2 separate regions of the Homo sapiens genome follow, and region 2 is linked to region 1. The links are contacts of gene promoters, found by promoter capture Hi-C in blood cells and fetal thymus (Javierre and others, 2016). All regions are on one chromosome and are shown on one strand. The core of a region is centred on a gene start or on the middle of the fragment in contact, and the rest is flanking DNA. Distances in the headings are between cores, read along the strand shown.

Region 1 (3,746 bases), core at 81-2,580:
CTTGTAAGATTATTTACTTACATATTTGTTTAGTGGTTGTTTATACCCACAAAAACATATGCTCTATAAGGACATGGATTCTTATATGTTTTGTTAACTTGATGTTTTCCTAGTTCCTTGAACAGCACTTGATATACAGTATGTGCTCAATAAATAGTTGTTATATGCATAAATAAAAAATATTTTATTTTATTTATTTATTATTATTATTTTTTGAGAAGGAGTCTTGCTCTGTCGCCCAGGCTGGAGTGTAGTGGCGCGATCCCAGCTCACTGCAACCTCTGCCTCCCGGGTTCAAGCAATTCTCCTGCCTCAGCCTCCTGAGTAGCTGGGAGTACAGGCATGTGCCACCATGCCCAGCTAATTTTCGTATTTTGTATTCATGTATAAATTTTTGGCTCGCTCAAGGGTTTCACAACTTTCCATGTTATGAGTATATAAATTTGTATATGGAGAAAAAGGAATAACTTCGAGGTAGCTCAGGTTCATGAAGCTAGCTCTTGATACAATGAAGTATGTCATCCTGTGAACATGTGCACTTTAATTCCTTCTTATATTGCTATTAGGATTACAGTGACTTTTTCTTAATTTTGCTATTCATTCTGCGCAACTGTTTGCCTTTTTGGGAGTTCTATCACCATGTTATTACTGCAAACTGCGAACTCTTTTTAAGGTTCTTTCCTGCTTATGTTACCATCTTTCTTTTCTGGTCAAATAACAAATGGTGAGTTATGAAACATTTCTGTGTAGATTTTTATTTTGACCTGAGCAGGAAGCCAAGATATAACAGCTCCCAGGAATTAAGGATTGTTAAGAGCGACGAGTCTCCACTTCTTAAACTTTGTCTCTCCTGGGCCCTTCAGCCAGCCCCTGCGTCCGCAACGCTGAACCATCTCTGGGGCCACCACCTGCATCCTCCAGCCCTTTCCAGGGGTCCCTCCTCTGGCCGGCGCCCTCCCCAGTGCCCCGCCAGCGCTTACCAACGCCGGCGGAATTCGTGCTTCTCTTCCTCCGTGGTGGCTAAAGCCTTCTTTTTCCTCATAAAGCCTAACAACTCCTGGATCTCCTTCTCACAAGAGGCCAGGAGCGGGTTTTTCGCGTCCAGCGGCCCATAAAACACGGCTAGGGGCAATGAGTCCTCGGGGCAGGTCCACTGAAGCAGCGAGCTCCGGGAGCTCCCCTTCGACTCTGGGGGCGACCTCGAAGTCGCGGTGGAGGTCGGCGGCAGTTCTGGCAGAGACCCCGAGGTGGTAGAGTCGTCTGACGGAGAGCTCGAGGGGGAGCCCTGCGCCGCCATATTGACGCGCCCCGGCCCGCCTGGAGTATGTGTACACGCGGTTGCCTGGCGACGGTCTCGTGGCAACCGGGCATCCCGCGCGCATTCCGAGAAACACAGCGGCCCCTGGAGGGCAGAGCGAGAAAGAACCAGGTCCAGAAAACAATGATGCTCCTGAGGGCGTTGCCTGGTTGTGCGCTGGCACCGCTGTATGAAATGCGAACAGAGAATGTTCTGAGCAGAGCGCTGGCGAATATTAGAGCCAAAAATTTAAGGTCACAAATCCAGACTATACTCTTTATCCATGTTGGCCACTTAATAACGATAATGATGACGACCATGACCATTAACGTGTGTCAGGCATTAAGCATTTGAAACATGTACTTTCATTTATCTCATTTAATCATCATAACTACTTTACAACTTAGGATACTATTAGTATATCCATCTCACAGTTTAGGAAACCAAAGCTCAAGGAGGTTAAGTCATTTGACAAAAGTCAGCGTACAACCGTAGTGTCAGCGACCAGGTCCTCCAAAGGGAACTTGTGACTCCAAAGCCTGTGCTCAAAATGAATAGGCTGTATTGATCACTCCCCAAAACAAAGCTTATTAATCAAATTGAAATTAGAGAAATATCTGACAAGCAGTTTAAGAATCAAATACAGTTGGCCCTCCAAATCTCGGGTTCTTCATCTGTGGATTCAAGCAACTCCAGATTGTAAATATTCAGAACAAAATTAGAAATAACAATACAACAATAAAAATAACACAAAATACAACTATTTACATGGCATTTATACTGTATTAGGTATTACTAGTTATCTAGAGATGATTTAAAACATCCTGAAGGATGTGCACAAATTATATGCAAATACTACAGCATTTCATATCAGAGGCTTGAGCATCCACAGATTTTGGTATCTGCGGGTGTCATGGAACTAGTCCCCCACAGATAGCCAGGGAGTACTGAATATGCAGCTGATCCATTCTCTTTCCTCTATTTGTACCTTGAGGTCTGTAACTGTGGACATGATGTCTATGCCTCTAATAATTATGATTACATCTATTTATGCACATTCCAGCCTTACTTTAATTATCTCTGTATTCTAAATTAATGTGCATTTTGCTCAACCTTAACCATAGGACATTAATACATACTAGTGGCCTGAAGTGTTAACTCTCAAAATACTTTGCATTTTAAACAGGGCTTTTAGGAGACTTTACTTCTGATGGGGAAACTACAGACCTCCAGGGAAATACTTGGGGAGTTTATTCTTAGCCTGTGTATTATAGGCAAAAGTCAGAGTTAAATTTATTAAAGTATGAGTATTGAGAAAATGGAGAACCTTCTTTTCTATAAATTATGCAACACAATAAATTATCTAAGAGAAGAACCAGAAATATTTGGTGGCTTAGAAAAATCAGTCTTTAACCCTGAAAATTGTTACCAGTTCTATCACACTTAAATAAAGACAGTGACCCTAACACCCTGTGAACCCAATTTTCCATTTCAGACTAAGAAGCTTATTGGACCACAGCCTGATATCTTTCAAGTCTGACCTAATTTTATGCAGGCTCTGTGGGCCTGTGCTAATTTGTGAGGCTGGCCTAATATGTCATGTCTACTGTACCCTAATATTCTTTGAAGGAAAATAATTTTGCTCATCGGCACAGTTAATTATAGCCAGAGAAACTTCCTGGCAAGCAGTGAGACGCAATGACACCTCACTGTAGGAGTCCAATTCTCTAATCAGGATGTAGATATCATCCTTTGATCAACAAAGATTTTATCTTGTTCTCTAAGTGAACAACAAAAATTGTAAGGCTTTAAAGAATGTAGTCCTAGAGAAATAATCACTGGGCATTTACAAAAATATTAATAGACATTTTTAAAAGTCGGCTTGGTAAATTCTCTTTTTTCTCATCTTTTTCTTGCTCTAACATGGCAGACTTGTCCATTGCAGATCAAAAACTGGTGTAATTTGCCACTGAGTGCTATCTATTATATTGATGAAAGTGAAACAGCAGGATAAAATTAATTAAAGTGGTCACAGAAAAGGAAAGAAAAAAATAAAAGACAAAGTGGTGTTTTTCCTTCTAATCTGGCTACTGTCACAAACAAACTTTATCATAGGGCAGACACTTGTATTTCAAAGTCACTGGTAAAAGAAAATGTGACTAAGCAAATTCAAATACCTGAATTATGAAACATTGCATCTTAGTCACTTTCCCCCTTGCACACACTAAAGCTAACAATGCTTAACTTGCAGTAGTTTTTGGAAGCTTGTCTGAATATTTAAATGGGTGTTATATTCTGAATCATCATTATGATAAGATGGAAGTTTACATTTTATTTAGTTTAAATTAAATTGGCTGGGTGTCGTGGCTCACGCCTGTAATCCCAGCACTTCAGGAGGCTCAGGTGGGCGAATCACTTGACGTCAGGAGTTCGAGACCAGCCTAGCCAA
Region 2 (3,375 bases), core at 702-3,201, 290 kb after region 1:
AAACGGCTTTATCAAGTCCAAGGGCAAAACAAGGTGGGGCTATATTGACAAGCTCCCCCCAACCCCCGCTTCAGATTATTTTTAATTCATTGAGTGCCAGGTATTGTACAAAGTGCTGAGATAATACAAAGGATGAGAAAAACGGACGCAGGCCCAGAGGGAGCTCACAGACTGATGGCACCGCAGACATGCAGCACATGACACAGACACGTGCAGGCATCCCCCAATATCCAAATCGAATGGGACCGCAGTTACGGACAGTAACTTCAGATCATGAGGGATGCCATGCTATCACATCTATTTGGTTCCCGGGTTTTGGAGAAAATAGCATTAATGAATAATGAGGGGCACCAGCCCTATTTCAGAAAGATGTCTCTAAAACTGTCTAGTTCCTGGCCAGGTATGGTGGCTCATGCCTGTAATCCCAGCACTTTGGGAAGCTGAGGCGGGTGGATCACGAGGTCAGGAGTTCGAGACCAGCCTGGCCAGCATGGTGAAACCCCGTCTCTACTAAAAATACAAAAATTAGCCAGGTGGGGTGGCGCATGCCTGTAGTCCCAGCTACTTGGGAGGCTGAGGCAGAAGAATCACTTGAACCCAGGAGGCAGAGGTTGCAGTGAGCTGAGATCACTGCACTCCAGACTGGGCGACGGAGCGAGACTCCATCTCATGTTCCTGTGTTTGGGTAACAAGAATTTGGAGAGAGAGAATTCAGGTAATGAGGCAACCTGTAAATAAAGCCTGTGGTGGCCAGGCATGGTGGCTCACACTTGTAATCCCAGCACTTTGGGAGGCCGAGGCAGGCGGATCAGTTGAGGCCAGGAGTTTGAGATCAGCCTGGCCAACATGGCGAAACCCTGTCTCTAATAAAAACACAAAAATTAGCAAGGTGTGGTGGCACAAGCCTGTAATTCCAGCTACTTGGGAGGTTGAGGCAGTAGAATCTCTTGAACCCACATGGTGGAGGTTGCAGTGACCCAAGATGGTGCCACTGCACTCCAGCCTGGGCAACAGGCTAAGACTCCATCTCTCAAAAAAAAAAAAAAAAAAAGCTTGTGGTAAGGGCTCTGAAGGCCAGGAGCAGATGACTGAGGGAGATCTACTCTAGGTGACAGGAAAGGCTTCCCCAATAAAACATGGTGGAGCTGAGTGTGAACTAAAAGACGCCTACAAATTGGTTAGGCATGGAGTCTGAAAAATAGAGGGGTCGGGGGGAAAATTCTGTCAGTATTGACAAAGACCCAGTGGACAGAGGGCAGAGGACACCTTAAGCATTTGAGGAACTGAGGAAAAGTCAGTTTGCTGGCCCAAATCACATCTTGCAGCTTGAGTTAGGGGTTTTGGTCTTTATCCTAAGCTGAAGTCACTAGAAGATTTTTCAGTAGAAGAATGACCTGGTCAGATCTGTGTTTTGAAAGGATTGTTCTAGCTCCTGGGGAGAGAAGGGATCAGAGCGGGTGCAGAGGAATGTAAGAACCCTCAAGATACAGCAGTGGGGGCAGACAGCACTTTCAAAGACTATCAGAAGGAAGGAGGAGGAATTTCACCAGGTGACCAAACTCTTATCTGGTGCTACAGAGCACCAACTCAGACAGTCACTGATGTCCCCAAGAATGAGGTGGCTGTGGGTCATTAGAAATCAGTGCTGCCTGTCACAAACCTCAAAAGACTAGGAGGAAAGGAAGCATGGCAGCTAATACTGGCCTTCCACTGGAGTGTTCCTTATTCAATAAGGGGCCAAAATGGAATTCAAGGGGAAACTTATGGAGATCCCCCTTTTCCACCACAAAATAGCTGTTTGTTTAAATTCCTGCATATGTCTATAAGTCAGATGTCTGGAGATGACAGCAAGAAGTTCATATCACACTTTCACAACTCTTAGGAGTCAAGACCTTTCCTCCAAATATAGCAGTACACAAATAGGGCTTCCGACTTGAAAGGGAGTATATCTCAGCTTCTCCACTTCAATCCCTTTTTTTTTTTTTTTTTTTTTTGAGACAGGGTTTCACTCTGTTACCCAGGCTGGAGTGTAGTGGCGCAATCATGGTTCACTGCAGCCTTGACCTCCCGGGTAGCTGGGACTACTGGCACGCACCACCACGTCTAGCTAATTTTTGGCAGAGATGGGGTCTCACTATGTTGCCCAGGTTGATCTCAGACTCCTGGGCTCAAGTGATCTGCCTGCTTCAGCCTCCCAAAATGCTGGGATGACACATGTGAGCCACTGCACCCAGCCTCCACTTCAACTACTTTACCATCAGGCTAAAGAAACTGAGGTCTGGGAAGATTTACTAATATCCTCTCATCCCAATTAGTCTTCAGGTAATACATTTTTCCTAAAGCACACATATTACTTTTGGTTAAATATTTTGCGGATATCAGGTAATACAGAAAGGATTTTTCTTTTTCCTCTTACTGTATGATGAGGAAATCTACACATTCTGATTTATTTTTAACTAAGCAGATTAAATAAAATACCACAATATTTTATCAAGGTATTCTGAAGTTTAAGAATCTATATGGTAGAATCATGAAATTGCCGTAACAGAATTTTGTAAATGGCCAGGGATAATGAGACCCCATTTCTACAAAAAATAAAAAAATTAGCCAGAGGCCAGGCATGGTGGCTCACTCCTGTTAATCCCAGCCCTTTGGAGGTGGAGACAGGCAGATCTCTTGAGGCCAGGAGTTTGAGACCAGCCTGGCCAATATGGCAAAAGCCCGTCTCTATTAAAAATACAAAAATTAGCCAGGCATGGTGGCATATGCCTATGATACCAGCTACTTGGGAGGCTGAGGCATGAGAATTGCTTAGACACAGGAGGCGGAGGTTGCAGTGCGCCAAGCTTGCACCACTGCACTCCAGCCTGGGCAACAGAGCCAGACACTGTCTCAAAAAGAAAAAAAAAATTAGCCAGGTGTGGTGGTGCACACCTGCAGTCCTATCTGCTTGGGAGACTGAGGCAGGAGGATCACCTGAGCCCTGGAGTTTGAGGCTGCACTGAGCTATGACAGTGCCAGTGCACTCCAGCCTGGGTGACAGAACCAGGCTCTGTCTCTAAATACATAAGCCAAAAAACACTTGGGGACATGGAAATATTGTCTCTTTGGGTAGGGTTACATGTATGTATACAATAACACTTAAGATCTGCGCATTTTAATATATGTAAATCATACCTCAACTTAAAAAAAAGAGAGAGGGGAAGATACCAAGAGCCTCGTTTTCTTTACTCTATTGCTTGGAGTACAGGAGCCCTAGCTTCATCAGTCTTAAGAGAAGGTCTCCAACAGGAGGAGTAAGTTCTCGTGTTCTATAGCACTGCAGGATGCCTATAATACTATATAGTTTCAATTAACTAGAAGGAAGATAATGGA

The links. Contacts are between HindIII fragments. The CHiCAGO score rates a contact against its expected background, and 5 or more counts as called.
Region 2: a contact is called between a fragment that was not itself captured here and the fragment with the promoter of CFAP54 in region 1, in 5 of 17 cell types (total CD8 T cells, non-activated CD4 T cells, activated CD4 T cells and 2 more). The highest score is 6.7, in total CD8 T cells.

Annotation. Positions count from the first base shown.
Region 1 is chr12:96,487,161-96,490,906 of GRCh38, reverse strand. CFAP54 (cilia and flagella associated protein 54) reads right to left here and starts at 1,330. Exons shown (of 68, transcript NM_001306084.2): 1 at 981-1,330. The coding sequence starts at 1,297. RefSeq lists an enhancer at 1,082-1,291 and a silencer at 1,182-1,476. The HindIII fragment of the contact is 3,410 bases long and covers 1-1,885 here.
Region 2 is chr12:96,200,200-96,203,574 of GRCh38, reverse strand. All of the region lies in intron 1 of ELK3 (ETS transcription factor ELK3), which reads right to left. Among named protein-coding and RNA genes, the nearest start is that of ELK3, 7.5 kb to the right of the region's middle. The HindIII fragment of the contact is 1,794 bases long and covers 1,055-2,848 here.